7 separate regions of the Homo sapiens genome follow, and all the other regions are linked to region 1. Evidence: promoter capture Hi-C in human tissues and cell types (Jung and others, 2019). All regions are on one chromosome and are shown on one strand. Each heading gives the region's core, a stretch centred on a gene start or on the middle of the fragment in contact. The rest is flanking DNA. Distances are from core to core; before and after follow the strand shown. Region 1 holds the start of CTSL (cathepsin L). Region 2 overlaps LOC102724080 (a long non-coding RNA gene). Region 3 has its middle 51 kb from the start of TUT7. Region 4 overlaps TUT7 (terminal uridylyl transferase 7). Region 5 has its middle 150 kb from the start of LINC02834. Region 6 has its middle 20 kb from the start of TUT7. Region 7 overlaps LOC102724080 (a long non-coding RNA gene).

What was found. The method cuts DNA at HindIII sites, captures the fragments that hold promoters and counts their contacts. A contact is called where the count stands out against the background at its distance.
Region 2: a fragment that was not itself captured here is called in contact with the fragment with the promoter of CTSL in region 1 in 1 of the 25 tissues and cell types used here (dorsolateral prefrontal cortex).
Region 3: a fragment that was not itself captured here is called in contact with the fragment with the promoter of CTSL in region 1 in 2 of the 25 tissues and cell types used here (dorsolateral prefrontal cortex and lymphoblastoid cells).
Region 4: a fragment that was not itself captured here is called in contact with the fragment with the promoter of CTSL in region 1 in 1 of the 25 tissues and cell types used here (dorsolateral prefrontal cortex).
Region 5: a fragment that was not itself captured here is called in contact with the fragment with the promoter of CTSL in region 1 in 1 of the 25 tissues and cell types used here (lymphoblastoid cells).
Region 6: a contact is called between a fragment that was not itself captured here and the fragment with the promoter of CTSL in region 1, in 1 of the 25 tissues and cell types used here (mesenchymal stem cells).
Region 7: a contact is called between a fragment that was not itself captured here and the fragment with the promoter of CTSL in region 1, in 1 of the 25 tissues and cell types used here (lymphoblastoid cells).

Annotation. Positions count from the first base shown.
Region 1 is chr9:87,724,804-87,727,530 of GRCh38, forward strand. It overlaps CTSL (cathepsin L), which reads left to right and starts at 1,316. Exons shown (of 8, transcript NM_001912.5): 1 at 1,316-1,595. RefSeq lists promoters at 1-1,389, 1-1,361, 1-1,389, 1-1,288, 58-1,389 and 7 more, cis regulatory regions at 305-307, 373-375, 532-719, 717-724, 796-946 and 10 more and an enhancer at 1,107-1,628. The HindIII fragment of the contact is 7,957 bases long and covers 1-2,727 here.
Region 2 is chr9:86,489,071-86,491,874 of GRCh38, forward strand. All of the region lies in intron 1 of LOC102724080 (a long non-coding RNA gene), which reads left to right. Among named protein-coding and RNA genes, the nearest start is that of TUT7, 140 kb to the left of the region's middle. The HindIII fragment of the contact is 8,380 bases long and covers 1-2,804 here.
Region 3 is chr9:86,404,374-86,407,122 of GRCh38, forward strand. No RefSeq gene overlaps it. Among named protein-coding and RNA genes, the nearest start is that of TUT7, 51 kb to the left of the region's middle. The HindIII fragment of the contact is 7,780 bases long and covers 1-2,749 here.
Region 4 is chr9:86,313,331-86,316,030 of GRCh38, forward strand. All of the region lies in intron 17 of TUT7 (terminal uridylyl transferase 7), which reads right to left. Among named protein-coding and RNA genes, the nearest start is that of ISCA1, 32 kb to the left of the region's middle. The HindIII fragment of the contact is 3,102 bases long and covers 1-2,700 here.
Region 5 is chr9:86,559,102-86,561,876 of GRCh38, forward strand. No RefSeq gene overlaps it. Among named protein-coding and RNA genes, the nearest start is that of LINC02834, 150 kb to the right of the region's middle. The HindIII fragment of the contact is 5,218 bases long and covers 1-2,775 here.
Region 6 is chr9:86,373,158-86,375,857 of GRCh38, forward strand. It overlaps the pseudogene RPS6P13. Among named protein-coding and RNA genes, the nearest start is that of TUT7, 20 kb to the left of the region's middle. The HindIII fragment of the contact is 5,262 bases long and covers 1-2,700 here.
Region 7 is chr9:86,507,838-86,510,582 of GRCh38, forward strand. All of the region lies in intron 1 of LOC102724080 (a long non-coding RNA gene), which reads left to right. Among named protein-coding and RNA genes, the nearest start is that of TUT7, 150 kb to the left of the region's middle. RefSeq lists an enhancer at 759-928. The HindIII fragment of the contact is 5,865 bases long and covers 1-2,745 here.

The DNA of each region.
Region 1 (2,727 bases), core at 66-2,565:
AGTTTAGGAAGATAAACAAGCTCTGGGAATAAACAGTAGTAATGGTTACACAATGTGAAGGTACTTAATGCTACTGAACTCAAAGTTGGTTAAAATGGTACTTGCTATGTGAGGTATATTTTACCACTTAAAAAACTATAGGTGATTGTGCTTCTAAAAGAGTTATCAGTTTAATCTTCAATAGAAATCAATGGACTTTGTTCATTTTTAACAAAGTCAAAATATGCATACGAAAAGGTTATGGGGTAAAGGCAGAGGTAATTATTTTTTTCCCCGAAAGGTATTTTCTACAATGAATGTTTTTATGTAATAAAAAATGAAATGACAAAAGTTTAGAATGTTTGTGGGTTTTGTTCCTTAAATCCTTAATTACATAAATTAATATCTACATTATACAGATTAAGATACATATTTTTCCTCTATCTACAACATTTCTCCATTCTCTGTATCTTAAATCCTGACATTAAATGTCATTAAATTTCTTAAATCTCAAGAGAACGACTTGGTTACCAAGGAAGATATAATCCATAGCCTAGAGAGTGGGCGAATAAAAGCAGCTTCTAATGTTCTCAACTGCTTTTCTCCTGTCAACCAAATGTTTCTGTAAATAACTCATTTCTGTTGGTTTTGGGTAAGACGTGGGAGAAGGAAGAATCCCTGAATGGAGGAGTCTGGAAAGGATGCTTGACAAAACGCCCGCGCTCTCTGGAGACGCAGCCAGTCTCCTCCCTCCTAGGGTCTGGTCTTGACGATAGCATCTCGTGTTTTGGGGATGCCTTTCCTTACCAGATTCTTCTAAAGCCCAGCTGCACCCACCCTTAAGTGGGAGATAAGGCTTCTGCCCGCGGGCTCTGCGTTCGTCCACCCGGCCCCACGTTTGCTGTGGACTAAACAGGAGCCACTGGACTAGAGTACACTTGACTCTCGGCTCTGCGGACCAAAAATTCCAGGACTAAGGAATAGCAAGGTTAGGCTGAAACAGTCCACACAGGGCTTGCGGTAAACGTCTTTTCAGGAGCCACTCGCCCAGTGCAGTAAGTCGTGTACTTAGTTGACTCGAGCGCTCCAGGGAGACGCCCGACCCTACTCTGCGCCGCCCCGGGGCACCAGCTCTGCTTCCTCCAGGTCCACTGAGGCAGGCACGCCCAGCTCTGGGACAGTCAGTAAACAAGCCACGAACCGCGCCAGGGATCAGAGCACCCAGAGTCCCCGCCCAGCTGCCGGCACAGCCAATCGCAGCGCAGCCAGGCGGCGGGGCGGTGCCGGCCGAACCCAGACCCGAGGTTTTAGAAGCAGAGTCAGGCGAAGCTGGGCCAGAACCGCGACCTCCGCAACCTTGAGCGGCATCCGTGGAGTGCGCCTGCGCAGCTACGACCGCAGCAGGAAAGCGCCGCCGGCCAGGCCCAGCTGTGGCCGGACAGGGACTGGAAGAGAGGACGCGGTCGAGTAGGTGTGCACCAGCCCTGGCAACGAGAGCGTCTACCCCGAACTCTGCTGGCCTTGAGGTGGGGAAGCCGGGGAGGGCAGTTGAGGACCCCGCGGAGGCGCGTGACTGGTTGAGCGGGCAGGCCAGCCTCCGAGCCGGGTGGACACAGGTACCGCAGCCAGGCCGCGCCGCGCCGACTCAGGGCCTGGCCCGGCCAGACAGGGAAGCTCAGTCCCCGCACGCCAGACAGCGGTACTCCTGCTGGCGTCACCGCAAACATCCTCTGACCGCTACAGCCAGTGTGTGGCGCAGGCGTCATGTCCCCGGCCCTGCCACGCCTGGAGCCCTGGAAGCTGGCTGCAGGGCGCTGGCTTCCCGCGTGCGGCCATATGACCCCGTCCCTGATTTAGGGGAGCAGTTTGGGGTGTCGGCAGCACAGGCCCAAGTGAATGAAGGAGGGAGCAGTGCGTGCTCTCCTTCCCAGTTTTTCCTGGGAAAGCATTTCAGAAAGGTTTCATTTAAGGAGAGGTTGGGGCGGCGCGGTGGCTCACTCCTGTAATCCCAGCACTTTGGGAGGCTGAGGTGGGCGGATCACCTGAGGTCAGTAGTTCGAGACCAGCCTGGCCAACATGGTGAAACCCCGTCTCTACTGAAAATACAAAATTAGACGGGCGAGGCGGCGCACGCCTGTAGTTCCAGCTATTCAAGAGGCTGAGGAAGAATGGCTTGAACCCGGGAGGCAGAGGTTGCTGTGAGCCGATATCGCGCCGTTGAACTCCAGCCTGGGCCACAGAGCAAGACTCCATCTCAAAAAATAAATAAATAAATAAATAAATAAATAAATAAATAAATAGGAGAGATTGGAAAACTTATCTCAGCTTTTGGTGTTTGTTAGTCAGGAAGATGTGTGAAGGCCTCCTAACTCTTGGGGATCTCTTTGTCCCTACTTGGGAATCCCACCTTATCATTAGTGAGGTTTTGCCTGGGCACGAAACCTGGATTTTTTGCGATTGGTACAAAACCTGGATCAACCGTTTCCCGGTTTCCTAGTTGTTGCCTTAAGCTTCTCACACACAAGGTAGTTTCATACCGTTCTCATAACCTAAATTGTCATCGCATAAACTGTTTCAGCTCCTACAGCTCTGGACAGGCTGCTTTTCATTTTGGTGAGTCCATCCAGTACCTCCACGTGCCCTGTTTTTCTCCAGGCACATCCTTGGCCTCTTCCACAGTCCTTGGGTAAATGCTTGGGAGAATAATTTAAATATTTTTATTCTACCATGGTGGCCCTAATTTTTCAG
Region 2 (2,804 bases), core at 76-2,575, 1.2 Mb before region 1:
GCTGTGAAGGGGTCAGGGAAATATCCTGCTTCACCATCAGCAGAGAGGCTCTCTCCTGATGAGACCCGTCAACCTTGGATTTCTCAGCCTCTATAACTAAGAAATAAATTCTTTTTCTTCAAAAATTATCCAGTTTCAGTTATCTTGTTATAAGCAACAGAAAATGGACTGAGACCATATACATAGCCTGGATAAGCAGAATCAGAGTCATGATTTCATAGCATTTTTGTTTTTTACTCCTTTAATGCTAGAACTAGAGGAACATGCAAGATTTAGGTTAGATACAAAGAAGTTTCTAAACATGGGACTTGAAGTTCCTTTTCTGCAGGCCTAACCAAATTAGATTATTTTGTATGAATTATTTAGGGCTCTCCTAATCCAATGTCTGAGTCCACATCTCTCCGTTGAAGTGATCAGATACTTGGAAGCACATGTTGACCACGCAACACAAATGTCAACAGACATTGATTGAGCTCCCACATTTCAGTTTGGGTCCTGAAATTCAAGGATGAGAAAAACACATTGTCTGCCCTCAAGGAACGAAAGTCCCTTCTCCATCTCCTTCCAAAAGTTGGCTGGTAACCTTATTTGTGACCTCTGTTTCCATAAAACATTTGAGAGTATGGTTGGTGAAGAACTGAAGTTTTAGTTGGATCCCTGAATAGGCATTAAGCTGTGTAGCTAGTGCCTTGCTAAGATCTTTTCAGGACCATTGCTTGCCTGGTAAAATAAGAGTTTCCACTAATTTTCCTTGGCAGGGACTACAAAGTAGGGTTTATTTTCTAACCATAGGATGATCCATAGCTAATAAATAGTACCCTCTTGGAAGAACGCAAGAAAATGTATTCTATTATTGAATGTAATTTGTTATTATATATTATTTAATATAATTATATTATTTGAGAATCTTCTTTCTTTCTTTTTTCTTTTTTTTTTTTTGAGACAGGGTCTCACTCTGTCACCAGGCTGGAGTGCAGTGGCACCATCTCGGCTCACTGCAGCCTCCACCTTCTGGGTTCAAGTGACTCTCCTGCCTCAGACACCCAGACAGCTGGGATTACAGGAGTGCGCCATCAAGCCCAGCTGATTTTTGTATTTTTAGTAGAGACGGGGTTTCGCTATGTTGGCCAGGCTGGTCTCAAACTCCTGAGCTCAAGTGATCTGCCCACCTCAGCCTCCCAAAGTGCTGGGATTACAGGCATGAGCCACTGCTCCAGCCAAGAATCTTCTTTCTGATGAGCGCAGTCTGCACCTCATAATGACTGTCTCAAGGTGTAAGGCAAGCACAAACACTATTGACTCTGTTTTACAGATCAGGAAAATGAGGCAACGACAAATTCATTCATCTATTCTTAGGGAAAGAGTTGATAATGGGCAACTGCAGCCTGCAGGCGTCTGACCATATGCCATATCTTCTGCACAGAGTCTCTGTTGGACTAGACAGTATTTTTTGCACATTAGGAAAAGGTGCATCCCTTGCATGAATGCAGCCCTCTGTATGGGTAGCTACATTAGCAACAGGAGCGTGGGTTGGATTTTAGTCCCCAGTCACTTGCCTGGTTGGGTCCTCTTGTGCAGTCACGACTTGCAACTTGTACAACTTTGGGCCCTTCCTGTCTTTTTCTTTGTTATTACTTCACACTTGAGAATCAGCTTCTCAAAAGGTTTGGTGAGAAAAATTGAGCATTGGTGATGCCAGGCATATGGCAGATGCTTAATAAGTGTTTGCTCAATGAATGAATTAGGACAGGTGTCCCATCATATGTGCCTGGTCACCCTGCACTACTGCATCACTGTAGCCATGCAGCTCCCCACAGAGGTCAGGGGTTAGGCACCGTTCTCATCTGAGTGCCTCTTTTTCTTGAGTATTATATTTCCTTAGAAGTAATTACTCCCAACCCTTGTGTGAGGAATAACCACTTTTCATTTCTGTGAAGCTGACCACACACCTATGTATAGGTGGGGCACCCTTCAAGGGAGCTGGGAAGAGGAAATTCCCAACAGCTATCCTCCTTCCACGCCAACTAGGATTCCGGGGAGAGGAGTGTGGTGGAGGCAGCCATCTTAGGGTTCTGTTAGACCAGACAGAGATTTCTGCATTTGACCTTGACCTGATGATTGGGAACCCTCAGAGCAGTACAGCTGCAGAACATTTCTTCCCTTTCATCAGGCCCAGACATTGTTTAGTGAGGAGTTACAGAAAATGTTTTGTTGTTTTCAAGGACTTGAAAAGCACCCTGTCAGCTCTCTCTCAGATAGAATGGAGTGCACCAAGCCTGCGGGGTTCCTTATCTTATAGTTATAACCAATGGAAAACTTGGAGGAGGAAGAATCTTTCTTCCTTCTGCATCTTCTGTCACACCAAGCCTGCTAGGCTGGGCATGTCAGAGCAGGTTCTTTGCTAATACCTAGAGGTTCCTGATAATGCCCAGCTTGGGCTAGACTGGCTGTAAGCCTAGGACAGGTGGGCTATTAGATAAGCCACAGTGAACTCCTCTTTGTGAATGACAGAATTAGACTACTGAGGCATTCTCAGTTGTTTTCACAATGCAACTGTGCAAACAAGTGATCCTCCATTGAAAAGGAGACCCTTCCTTCCTCCTCCCTACACAGTCTCGTAACCAAGACAAATTACTTTCCCTTCCATGTCCCGACTCCCTCAATTTTCATCTTTATTGGGCAGATCAAGGATTATATCTTGATCCTTTAAGTTCCCAAACAAAGATGACTTCTTCATCGTTTTAATTTTTGTATTTTGATGGAATAGTTTTTTAAATGGCTGTCTTCATTTAACGTTTTGGTTG
Region 3 (2,749 bases), core at 206-2,705, 1.3 Mb before region 1:
TAAGTTCCTGTTGTTTATAAGCCAACCAGTTTATGGTATTTTGTTATAAAAGCCAAAATAGACTAAGAACATTATGTTATATTAGAGTGATATCATATAACTGATCAAGTTTGGAGGATGTCCAGTGCCCTAGCCCATGCCGTCTGAGGAGAGGTTGATGAAGAGAATGATGAGAGGAAGTGAGAATAACTTTCTCACCTTTCCTGAGACACATTCCTCCTACCATGGTCCCATTACGGGGCCTTCCTACAATCACTTTCCAGCTTTCCCTTGTTTCCCTGTTTCTACCCTCAGACAAAGTAGTAGAATGATTACATTCTCAAGAGGTCCTGTGAGGATGCTTGGGCAAAATCAGACTCATGTCAGGCCATTTTAATTTCTAGAATCCCCGGATAGGACCTGCGGCCAGCTCAGAAAGACCTGATGGTAATGTGCCATCTTCCCTTCACAAACACTTGAGTGGGTCTGTCTAAATGTCCTAAGTGGACATTTCTGTTATCCTCAGTTTTTCTTCCAGGGTTCGTCGCATTTCTTTGTGAAAAGCTACCTTATGCAAGCATTTTGTGTGATACTGTTCAGAGTCTGAGGTTTTAGCGCTGACCCTGGAGACCGTTAGTTTTATTCTATACTAGGTGTTTGTAAGTGGGGACTTTATTTAGATAAATTGACAACAGCAAAGTGCCACCCCACTTCACCCCAACATTCATTAAGGATTTGCTGTGTCCCAGAAATTATACTCTGGTGGTTATACACATTGCCTCATTATATCCTTAAAACTGCTTTTTGAGACAGATAGGATTGTGATTCCTGTAGCAATCTTGAAACTGGACTCAGAGAGGGTAGGAAGTTTGTTCTAAGGCGCACAGCTATGACCAGCACAACTGAATCTTACCTTAACTCACATCAAAGCCTCTGAGCTTAAATATTAGGCTATTTACCATGGCTGTGAGAGACGGGGAACAAAAAACAGTGTTTAGTTAAATCAACAGCTATGTTTACACTCTCTGTATAAACAGTGCAATGTCCTCAAAGAAATCACACAAGAAGGAACAGTAACTCCTGCCAACACACTGGTAAACTTGGCTCTGCCAAAACTATTAGCTCTTGTTTTCACTCATCAATGTCTTATGTTTCTTTTGCCATCATCTTTTTTTATTCATTAACCCCAGAGCCTCAACTATCTCTCATTTAAGATAATTGTTCTTATAGTTTTCCAGAAAAACCCATTTCTCCTTTTACTTTTTCCTAGTATCTCTTCCCATAAAAGGCAATGCCCCTAAATTTGTATCATTCCAGGCATTAGAGAACCAAGCTCAGAAACACTTATAAGATTTTTAAGGTTATCGTTCTCCCCCCAAAACACATGCACATTACCTTTGCAGAGTTATTATTCAAAATATAGACTTAGAAGCTCTCTGGGCTATAGTCAGCTGGTAATTAATTATAATGACTTCAAGGTATGTTAAATTTGTACGGGGGTGGGGAGAGGGTCACTTGCAGCCTCAAGAGGACAGAGCACACCGTGAACCAGTTCTGGAACCTGCTTACAGATCTCAAAAGTTCCTGCAGCAGGAGGGCTAATGACATTCTCCCTTCTAGAAAAGCAGAGTGACTCAGGATACAGATGTTCCGCCTACCCTGCATTTGTAATTATGAGCTGGCTGTGGTACTTCCCAGGGAGTCTTTGAATCATCTGTTCTTGCAATTTATCTTGCCGCTGCTCTTTTTAGAACAATCTAGGACATGTCAGCTGAAAACATGTACCAGTTGCTTGCAAAGAAAAGAATGGCTTTTTGTGTGGGGGTGGGGGACACAGAGCGTTCTCTTCCTCCCTCTCTGCTGGGGAACATGGTAGGCAGAATGAGCTAATAATTCTCAGAGAAAAAAATATGAGCCCTGAAGAACCCCAATGCCTAGAGAGCACGAAGTGAAGGTAGCTTAATGTTAGTCCTGGTGTGTATACAATGAGGGCCAGAGCTTCAGGAAGACGTGCTAATTTCACTTTAATTAACACATACTAATGCAAAGGAGATGAACCAGAGAAACTTGAATTTGCAGGCAGACTCATGAAACAAAAGTAAACCTGGTACCTATTGTGAAATCATCTTTGGTGCAGTGTGGCTCAGGAATGTGCCACTCCTGATACTTTTTTTCATCTGCACGTGAGTGTCTGGACTCTGGATTCAGAAAAACAGATGGAACTTTAGGTCAGATGGGTTCCTGAGTCACCCCGACACAGGGGGCAGGCTGTATTTTAAAAATTTGTTGAGTATTTATTTGTACAAAGCATTCTGTAAGGCACTAAACCGTAGTTTCTGCTCTAGTCTTCTTTCAATGACGGGTTCTGGGAGGGGTGATGGAAGCAGAAGTGATAGTTATTTATGTCACAGACTTTGAGAGCAAAAACGTACTTCAGAGGAATGCTTCTCAAAGATTTCTCAAATGCAGGTTCATGGACTAGTGATAATTATGAAATTAACAATTTGGACAAAATGAGAGACAAAGAAACAAGGTGAGCTTTGTATAAAGCTAAATGTGTTCAGTTGAAAAAATTTTTTTTCTTTAGAACATGTGTCCTACTTTTCTTATTTTTAAAAGACCATTTCATGGTGATTTTAGGGGAATAAGACCATTCTCCTTTACCCTCTCATTTCTGCCCCCTTTTCTGCCAGAGGAGAAGCACCTCAAGAAACTGACATCCAGATGGGAATCAAAGTCCCATTTTTGACCTAGTTAAGCCCTGCTTCCA
Region 4 (2,700 bases), core at 177-2,676, 1.4 Mb before region 1:
TCATGGTGGCATGGGAATACACAGAAGAAGCAAGGCATGTTTGAGAGCATCTGTAACTGGATGGGAAGCTAGGGGTAGTAAGAGAGGATCAGGGCTTTCAGAGTAAGAGTTACCACTTCCTGAGCACCTAATGTGTGATAGGGATATGTGAAGAGTCCTTTACAAACATTACCTCCTTAGGTTTATCACCCTCATCTTACAGATGAGGAAACAGAGACCCAGAAAGATTCACTAGCTTAGGAATATGCAGCTGGTAAATTGTGGAGCCGGAATTCAAATCTAGGTAAGATTGACTCCCAACTTATACTGAACCTAGTGTGGGTCAGGCTAATTATCATTTCACCCGTTTTATTGATTCCAAGGATGCCAATATCAACAACCATGAAAAAGGATTCACAAGGAAGGGCAGATTAATGGAGTTGGTTCCTGCAGAAGGGAAGCGGTAAAGTGAAAGATAAGCTCATTCTGAGATGTCAGAGTTTGAGTTTCTTCTGAGAGAGCTAAGTGGTGGTTCCTAAAAAGCAGATACATAGTGATCACATCATAGAACACAGGAGAAAATAAGTAGGTAGAAGACATTTCAGGAAAAAATCTGTGTGGCAGACAGAGGAAATGAAACTTAATCTGATGGGGAAAGGGGGCAAGGAAGCTCACTTTACTGAATACTTAGAATATGCTAGGCTTTGCACTTTACGTATTATCTTTCTTAAATGCCATAGAATTGTTATTTCCACTTTAGAGATGAGGAACTGAGTGCTTGTTATGAAGCTGAGTGACTTTTTGGGATTGCACAGCCAGCAAGGGGGAGACAGAATTTAAAATCAGAGTCTGATTCCAGAACCTCCACCTAGTACTTTGCTATCTCGCCTCTAAATTAGACAGAGGCCCTTTTCTTCACATCCTTCCCATTCTGGAATTTGACACTGTTGATCATTACCACACTTCAAAGTCTCGGATTTATTCACAGCATATCTTCCCAGTTCCTTTTCAGTCTCTTTTCTTAATTTCTGTCTAGTCTCTTTCTCTCAATCTCTCTCTTTTTCTTCAAGGCTTTCAATGCAAAAAAACTGTTTTATTTTCATCTTCAATTCTGACTGGCAACCCCATATTTCTAATTGTTTTCTGGAATGTTAAGTCTTGGAGATTATATGCTCATGGCAAACTAAACACTTTCACACAGGTGTTCTCTGCAAACATTCCTGGTTCTCAAATAACCCAGATAGTGACCTCAATCCTTACTTCCTACTTGCAGGTACCAAATCTAGGAAATTTTCCCACTTGGAATCTCTCATATCTTTTTCCTGTTAGCACCAGTGGCACCCTGGCTGAGGTCCTGCTGCCCTGTTGTCTACATTATACCTTCCCTAAAATACCACACCAGCTGCCTAAAAACCTTATGTTATGCTTTTATTGGGTCCTTTCCCTCCTGAAGAAACTTCAGTGCTTCCAAATATCTATAGACTTCATCTTATCTCCTAGTATTTCCCATTTGAAAATCTCCAAATGTACCAATCTTCTCACTGCTCTCCAAAATATCCCACAGTCTCACATTCACATCTATGCACTTAGAAATGATTTCTTTTCCCATCCTTTTCAAATCGTGTTCACCATCATCTGAGATCATAGCAACCTCCATCTCTTCCATCAACCTCCCCTGTGCAACTCTTTCCCACATTCTCTCTTCTTAGAAGTTATTTAATTGAATATTACCTTACATTGTTACATAGTTTGGAAGATTACCTTACCTCTTAAGATATGGAAGCTTTCACAAAAAAAACATACAGATTTTTTTACTTTTCCACCATCCCTAAGTGCCCAACACAGTGCTGTGCACATAGGAGGCACCCAATAAAATACCTGGGGAGACTGTTTTAAAGATATGAAGTTTTAAACACAGCCCTCTAGCTGTTACGAAATTCTTGTTCCAGGCAATCTGCATTCCATTATTATTATAAATCATCTGTGTGCCTAAGTCATTTCTAATCTAAAAATGATCTGTTTTTAACATCGTTCCTTCTTAGGAAATATATACTGAGGTATTTAGGGGAAAGGACATAATGTCTATAGCTTAATCTCAAATGGTACAGGAAGAAATTGAGAGCAAGCAAAAGATGGAATGATGAATCAAATATGGAAAATGTTAATTGGTGGATCTGAATAAAAGTTATATGTGGAACTCTTTATGCAACTTTTGCTGCTTTCCTTTAAATGTGAAATTAAATTATTTCAAAACACAAAGTTAAAATCTAGCTCAGTACTAAAAAATTAATAGTCACGCTAACTTAGTACTTCAGTTTCTTTGCACGACCTTCAAAACAAAACAAAACAAAACAAAACACATGATCTTTAGAGGTGGAATTCCCAAGTTAAGGGAAATGTTTACTTCAATGACCAAAGAAAAGTATATCAATGCACTTTTTTTCTTTTTTTTTTATATTGTTCTGCCCTCTGTGAACAAATCAATGTACATTTAAAAAAACAAAGCCTAACCCAATTTCTGTATACTTTAGGTTAATTTTTATTGGGAATAAACCAAAATTAAGATTTTTTTTCCTCCTGTTATTTAAACAACATGGTATGTACTTTATTAACTCCTGGGGAAAAAATTTCAAAGAAAAGTGGCACCCAAGGTGTATATATGTGTGTGTCTAGGTGTGTGTGCACGTTCATGCTGTGACTTAAAGTCTGTTCCTAACCGAA
Region 5 (2,775 bases), core at 33-2,532, 1.2 Mb before region 1:
ACTGTGTGGTACTATGGTACAGTGGTACTGTGTGGTACTGTGGTACAGTGGTACTGTGTGGTACTATGGTACAGCGGTAGTGTGTGGTACTGTGGTACAGTGGTACTGTGTGGTACTGTGATACAGTGATACTGTGTGGTACTGCGGTACAGTTGCTGCTAGAGGCCAAAGAGCATTGGCACATTTATGGCCTACTAATGTCAATCAATCAACACTTTTCTAGATTGTGGGGAGTCCTGAATTATCCAGTTTGTCTTTGTTTTTGTTTTTGAGACAATGTCTCGCTCTGTCACCCAGGCTGGAGTGCAGTGGAAGTATCATAGCTCACTTGCATCAGTGAACTCCTGGGCTCTAGTGATCCTCCCGCCTTAGCCTCCTGAGTAGCTGGGGCAACAGGGATAAGCCAGCCACCATGCTGGGCCAATTAATTTTTTTTGTTTTGTAGAGACGGGAGTCTTACTTTGTTGCTCAGGCTGGTCTCAAACTCGTGGGCTCAAGTGGTCCTCCTACCTCGGTTTCCCAAAATGATAAGATTACAGGCGTGAGCCACTGTGCCCAGCCTATTACCCAGTTATTTTTTACTGGTGTCTCTGCAGATATGAGGTTGTCAAGGGAACCGCCATAAGATAAAAATATTCATTAATGAATTGGCCACTTAAAGCATCAGTCCTCCCTCCAGCAAGCCTTCCCCTTTAGAGTAGTCAATTCTGCTGCCAGTTGCCAGATGCCATAAACATCTAATAACACAAAGTAAATACAGCCAAGGGCCAGGAGAGTACAGTCCCTCTGTCGAGAATGAGGAAGGTGAACCTCTCACACAGCCTAACCAGTCCTTACCCTGATGTGGGGGTGATGATGATTCTGGCAAGGGCATAGCTTCTTAAGGGCTTGAAAACCAGGGCAGCTTCCTTTACCGGCGGGGAAGCTGCTGCGGTCCCTGCTCTGAGCAGCTCTTGGTCTCTCCTGCGCTGTGTCCTTTGCTGTGTCACATCACTGTCATGCATGTGACAACTATGCACATGTGAAGAGATGATCGTGTCTGTGTGAGGGAGAAGACAACACTTAAAAAGCAAGAAGAATGGCAATCTCATCGAACCCGTGGAGTATATCGATAGTAAAATATAGAAAATACAGACAGAAGGAAGCTGTGTGTTTTGCTGACTGTCAGTATAAGCAGTGCAGTGCCCTGAGTTTCCCATAGCCCAGACTTAAGCCATAGTGACGACAGAGGATTGGGTGACTGCCGTAAGTCTGTAGGGGCTGAAAAAGCAAGCCCTCTTTCTTTAGTCTATTTTCAAAAAGGAGCAGGGAAGGATGAACCTTGATGCGCTTATTTGAGTAAAAGGCAAGGAAATTCTATAAGAAAGAGTTGCAGTGAAGAATTGTAAGATGCCCGAGGTGAAACATGAAACACCTCAGCGGTTAGGATGACCTCCACATTCAACCTTGGCACTTCCTTGGGATGCCAACCTCCTTGGTCGCCATGGCATCCAAATCAGCCAGTTCATTTTGGTCAAAATTCCTCTCCAACTATCCCAAGTTCAATGAAAATCTCAGTGGACTTTCGTTAAAGAACAGAAGAAAACAAAGTAAATGGCCCGACTGAGTCACTAGAAGAATTTTGGCAAATTATTTGTGCTCCCCCAAGTCTTATTGAGTTTAAACCTAAGGCAGAAGTTTTTGAAAGGCTGGTATAAAGCAGAGACAGCCTGTGATAATGAGAAGACACTGTTACTACATTCTTTTGATAATACAAAGCAATTTTTTGATAACACAAAGGAGTTGGTGTTGAGAGGTTACATTGAAGGGTAGCAGATATTGTGCCTCAGGGTCTGATCTAGCCAAACTTTCTGGGATCCTCTGAGCATAGGACAGGCAGTATTCACTATCTCACTGTTCTTTCTTCTTGGTTTGTTCAGTAGGATGGAAAAGAAGTTGGTTTGTATAGAACAGCCACAAATAAATGAGAAATTAGGTGCTTTCCTTATCGGCTCAATCCCATGGATGAAACCACCACAGAAAAGACAATGGTCCTCTTAACCTCCACATCAGTGGTTTCCTATGTTCTTATACTTCTGTCAGCTTATCATAAACTGGCAAACCTCAGCATGTATAGGTTAGATTTTTAAAGCTCACTAGTGTACAGTTTCATGCAAAGATATATTAAGTTTCAACACATTTCCCTAAGAAGTTAATGTACACAACAGAATCATTTTACAAACAAACTACTCCTCTTTCTCTCCCTTTTGGTTCTGCAGGAGAAGTGAGGAAAGATGGTGGAAACTTTCATGGTAATAACTTTTGTCCTGCCTCATATAATGTATTTTCTTTTCTTTCTTTCTCTCTCTCTTTTTTTTTTTGAAATGGAGTTTCACTCTTGTTGCCCAGGCTGGAGTGCAATGGCGCTATCTCGGCTCACCACAAACTCCATCTCCCGGGTTCAAGCGATTCTCCTGCCTCAGCCTTCCTGAGTAGCTGGGATTACAGGCATGTGCCACCATGCCCTGCTAATTTTGTATTTTTAGTAAAGACGAGGTTTCTCCATGTTGGTCAGGCTGGTCTCGAACTCCCGACCTCAGGTGATCTGACCTCCTCGGCCTTCCAAAGTGCTGAGATTACAGGTGTGAGCCACTGTGCCCGACCAATATACTTTATTGTCCAAAACATGTCGAGAGACTTCAGCTTTCAATGGGAATTTAAAAAAGGAAGTTGCTTCCATTACAATATTTCCTCACCTATTCCTATCACTTGCCAAGCAACAGCCTAGTGCAGGAC
Region 6 (2,700 bases), core at 120-2,619, 1.4 Mb before region 1:
ATCATTTAAAGATTTGGCCGGGTGCAGTGGCTCACACCTGTAATCCTAGCACTTTGGGAAGCTGAGGAGGGTGGATCACCTGAGGTCAGGAATTCGAGACCAGGCTGGCCAACATGGCAAAACCCCATCTCTACCAAAAATACAAAAATAAGCTGGGTGTGGTGGCATGCGTCTGTAGTCCCAGCTACTCGGGAAGCTGAGACAGGAGAATCACTTGAATCTGAGAGGCAGATTGTAGTGAGCTGGGATCACACCATTGCACTCAGGCCTGGGCAACAGAGCAAGACTCTGTTTCAAAAAAAAAATTCTTTAAAGGTTTGGTAGAACTCAGCAGTGAAGCCATCTGGTCCTGGACTTTTCTTTGTTGAAGCACTTTTTATTAGTGATTCAATCTCATCACTTGTTATTGATTTGTTCAGGTTTTCTATTTCTTCTCAGTAGGTTGCATGTGTCCAGGAATTTATCCATTTCCTCCAGGCTTTCTCATTTATTGGCACATCATTGTGCATAGTTGTCACTAATGAGTCTTTATATTTCTATGGTATCCATTGTGATATCTTCATTTCTGGCTTTTGATTTTATTTATTTGGATCTTCTCTCTTTTTTTCTTAGTCTAGCTAATGGTTTTTTTATTTTGTTTATCTTTTCAAAAACCAAATTTTTGTTTCATTTATCTTTTGTGTTTTTTTTTAAGTCTCCATTTTGTTTATTTCTGCTCTGTTCTTATTATTTCTTTCCTTCTACTAATTTTGGGTTTGGTTATTTCTTTCCTTCTACTAATTTTGAGTTCTTGCTTTTCTAGTTCCTTGAGGTGCCATTACGTTATTAGAAATCTTAGAAATCTTTCTAGTTTTTAGATGTAGGCATTATTGCTATAAACTTGCCTCTTAATACTGCTTTTGTTGTGTCCCATAAGATTTTTTTTTGTTTTTTGTTTTGTTTTGTTTTGTTTGTTTTGAGATGGAGTCTTGCTCTGTCACCCAGGCTAGAGTGCAGTGGCATGATCTTGGCTTACTGCAACCTCCACCTCCCAGGTTCAAGCAATTCTCCTGCCTTAGCCTCCCAAGTAGCTGGGATTACAGGTGTCTGCCACCACACCTGGCTAATTTTTTTTTTTTGTATTTTTGGTAGAGATGGGGGTTTCACCATGTTGGCCAGGCTGGTCTTGAACTCCTAACCTCGTGATCCACCTGCCTCAGCCTCCCAAAGTGCTGGGATTACAGGCATGAGTCACTGCATGCAGCCAAATTTTGATACATTGCCTTTCTTTCTTTCTCTTTCTCTCTTTCTTTCTTTCTTTTGTTTTTGAGTTGAAAAGCTTTGTTAAAGCAAATTTGCACTGGTTTACAAAACTTCCTGAAGTATTTTAAGATGCTATCCACTGAAACTATGCCTTAAAAGTTAGCTTTTCTAAAAAAACACTGTTAATCTTCCCAAGGGCAATTTTCATGTATTAAACTGTGTATAGTGTTTTAAAGAGCTATATTCCTCAAAATAAACTATATAAAAAAGATTAAAAGTCCTCTTCATTTATTTCCCCTAAGTTCCATGCCTTTCTGAAGAGGCAGATGTCTTATGCTCAGAATCCCTTCCTGCACCACCCATCCACCCAAAAGAATCCCTTTATTATGATCTTGTCTTCTTCTACCACACAATAGTCAGTCTGATTTTATCCATGACTGGATTACTATATACATATCCCCATTTTCTATGACCTAAGTTTCCCTCTCTTCATTTATGTAGTTGTCTATCATCAATGAAAAGTCAAGAGAGATGTGAGTCTGATCTTATTTGTTACTCAAAAAATCTTATTTCTGACTGGATTCAGGCTTGGAAGCAGAAACTCACAGAGAGGAAAGTCTGCATCTCTTGGCAATTTGTTTCTGGGGCTTCTCTTTAGCCTCCTTCATGCTCTTGGCCAAAAGTTTAGTGTATTCTGCAGCCTCTTCCTTATTTTTCTTAGTACGCTGCTTCTTCAGAGCAATACACCGCCGATTGTGCTGCAGGACATGTGGAGTAACAAGATGCTGAATCTTGGGTGCTTTGGTCCTAGGTTTCTTACCTTCTTTGTTTAAGGGCTTTCTTACAACATACTGGTGGACATCATTTTCTTTAGAGAGATTGAAAAGTTTGAGGATTCTGCTAGCTCTTTGGAGCCCCAGGCAATGAGGCACCGTAGTATCAGTCTGTCCAGGAATATCTTTCTCTCCCTTTTTTACAATAACCAAGTTGAGAATGCTAAGATTGGCATCCACAATGCAATCACAAACTGATTTTCTTTCTTTCTTTCTCCAGTTCTCCTTGGTCTGTAAGAGGACCTTACTCAGTAGCAGGCGGACACGGCCATGGGTCATGACACCCTTCTTCATGGGGAAACCTTGTTTGTAGTTCTCACCACTGATTTGGGCCACATAATCCTTCCATTCTTCACCCAGAGAATCAGCAGCTACTTCTGTGGCCATAGGCTTCTCATAAAAAGTACGAAGTTTGAGTTCCTCTTCAATGAGTTTCCGGCTGTCAGTGGCTGGGAAGGAGATGCTCAGCTTCATCTTGAAGTAGCTGAATGCCTCCGCGGAGCCATGGAAAAGAGTGATATGTTGTGTTTCTAGTTTTATTTGCTTCAAGGAATTTTTTTGATTTCCTGCTTAATTTCTTCTTTGACCCATTGGCCATTAGGGAGCATGTGGCTTAATTTTCGTA
Region 7 (2,745 bases), core at 233-2,732, 1.2 Mb before region 1:
ACTAACAGGCCTCCTGTACGTTCTGCCTTTACATCTCTCAGCATTTTTCTTCCCCCCTAATTTACCATATCACAAGGAAGTTATAGATATTGAATCAAAGTGCATCGCTGTAATCGAATTTCATCTTGAGACTATTTCTTCCATTAGAGAGTATAGCTCTGTTAAGGGCTCTGATCTACTAAGTAGCCCTAATCCAGAAAATTCACATAGATACTGCCTAACCATGGCAAAGGCACAAGAGCATTGACTAAAAAGGTCTGGTGGTAACTTCTGATAAATATTAGGCCAGTTGCAGCTCATCCCTTTGGATTTGTAGTTTTTTTTAAAAAAAATCTAAGAATCCTGTATAGATATAACAGGAGAACAGAAATGTTTCTGGACCTACCTCTTCCTAATCTTACAGAAAAAGCGATGAGTCTTTAGGAAAGTACAGAGTAATTCAGACACAGTAAAACACTAGTTAATTTGGGGGAAATTTGCATTTTTATATGTAAAAATTTGACAAATTCTTCTGAAATTACTAGACTTGCAAAGATGAAAAGCATCAAGTTACAGGATTTGAGTGACAGGCTGTTCATCCCTTCACTTTCCTTGTACATATTTTATTTCTCTTTTCATACTTTATAAATATACTTTTAGAAGGTACCTCAAAGATCACGTCTGACACGTAGTAGGCATTCACTATATAATTGTCGTATGAGGATATGCCATGACAATGAATTGCTATGCTTAGTCAGGTTAGGCTAAATTATGTTGTCATAACAAATAACTCTAAAATCTCGGCGGCTTAGCACAACAAAATATATATTCTTTGCTCACTACAGACTCTCATGTGAATTGACAGGGGGTTTCCATATCTAGTGGTTGGGGATTCCCTTTAACTTGTGAGGCCATCATCTCCACACTTGACTTTCAGAGTGGTTCTAGCAAGAGATAAGAAAGATGAAGGAGACACACTGGCTCCCAAGGGCCTTGCAATGGAAATGGTACATCAATTCCTCTCATATTCCTGTTTGCCAGATACAGTCATGTGCCCCAGACCCCAAAATAAAGAAGTATGGGAAATGCAGGGAGCCCAGGAATATTCAGTGAGCACTAATGGCCTCTGCTGCCCTTGGTTTTTAGGAGACAGAGAGGTGTAAATTAAAAGCCAGCGCTATGTTTTCCACTTTTATTTATCTAGGCTTCATTACAACTAGTCTTGCAAGGGACTCTGTGGGGAAAGTGTTTTTCTTTTCATGGTGAAACAAGTTTGGCAAATGCTGTGTATTATATTTACCTCATCCAATTTATGATGTGCAATTATTTATTAAAGGTTTTAAAAAGTTCAACATCAAAGAAACTGGTTATAAAAGACAAGAAATCAAGCTGTGAATCTAATTTATTTATTTGATAAATATTTTTTGAACACCTTCTATTAATATTTGCCAGGTATTGAGCTAGAATTTTGGGGGGAATTAGATGAATAAGGCCTTTTTCTTATCCACCAGGAGACTAATTCCAGGGAAGGCGTATAAAGTAATTCCCTAAGTGTACTCTCATTACAACAGGGGACACATATATTACCTATTCACCAATGGGTGTCTGTATCTTTTTGTGCCAAAGCAAGTTTTGTAACTCACTTGAACACATTTTGGGTGTTATTTTGCAATCTATTCATCCTGTAGTAGGCAGGCAATTTAAAAATACAATGACACCAGTTTACTTTCTAGTAGTTGGCATTTTCCTTAACAGTATACACTGTAAAACATCTATGTTTTAAAGATCAAATACTGGCCAGGGGCAGTGGCTCATGCCTGTAATTCCAGCACTTTGGGAGGCCGCGGCAGGCGGATCACCTGAGGTCAGGAGTTTGAGACCAGCCTGGCCAACATGGTGAAACCCTGTCTCTACTAAAAATACAAAAATTAGCCGGGCGTGGTGGTGTGCGCCTATAATCCCAGCTACCTGGGAGGCTGAGGCAAGAGAATCCCTGGAACCTGGGAGGCAGAGGCTGCAGTGAGCCAAGATCACGCCATTGCACTCCAGCCTGGGCGACAGAGCAAGACTCTGTCTCAAAAAAAAAAAAAAAAAAAAAAAAATTAAAATACTATAGGATGCCAATCACATAACAACACATACTAGAGTGACACAAATTTTAAAAATTAGAACAGTGATGCATTCTTTTAATAAAAAATATTAAACAACCCCAAAGAAAATATACATTAATTCTTAGATTTTTGCCTACAACCATTAGTCTAATTTTCCTAGTATATCTTTCTGGAAGAAACTACTGTTACTAGTTTTTTCCAGAGATAGTTTGTGTATATACTATATTACACATACATATATAAAATACCTCTTTTATTACATATACAAATTTGTAGTATTCTTTCATTTTTATCATGTATAATATGTATCTCTTTTTAAAACATAAATATTAAACTATCGTAAGTTCTATTCGACACTGTCTAAAAAAATTTAAAATATATCTAGAATTGCATTCTGTGTGCATGCGTGTGTGTGACTGTACATACGCTCACTCATATGCCCTGGGTGTACCACAATTTATGTAACTAGCTCCCTACTGATAGTCATTTAAGTCAAAATGGTTTCTAGAGAAGTTTATTTTTAAAAAACTTCATGTGTTTGAATCTTTTAAAAAGCAGCCAAAGTAAGCTAATGCATCCCTAAAAATGTGGTTCTTGTGAGACATTTTTAATACTCCAGTGGGTTTTTAAAAGGATACAAACTTATAGCTAGACA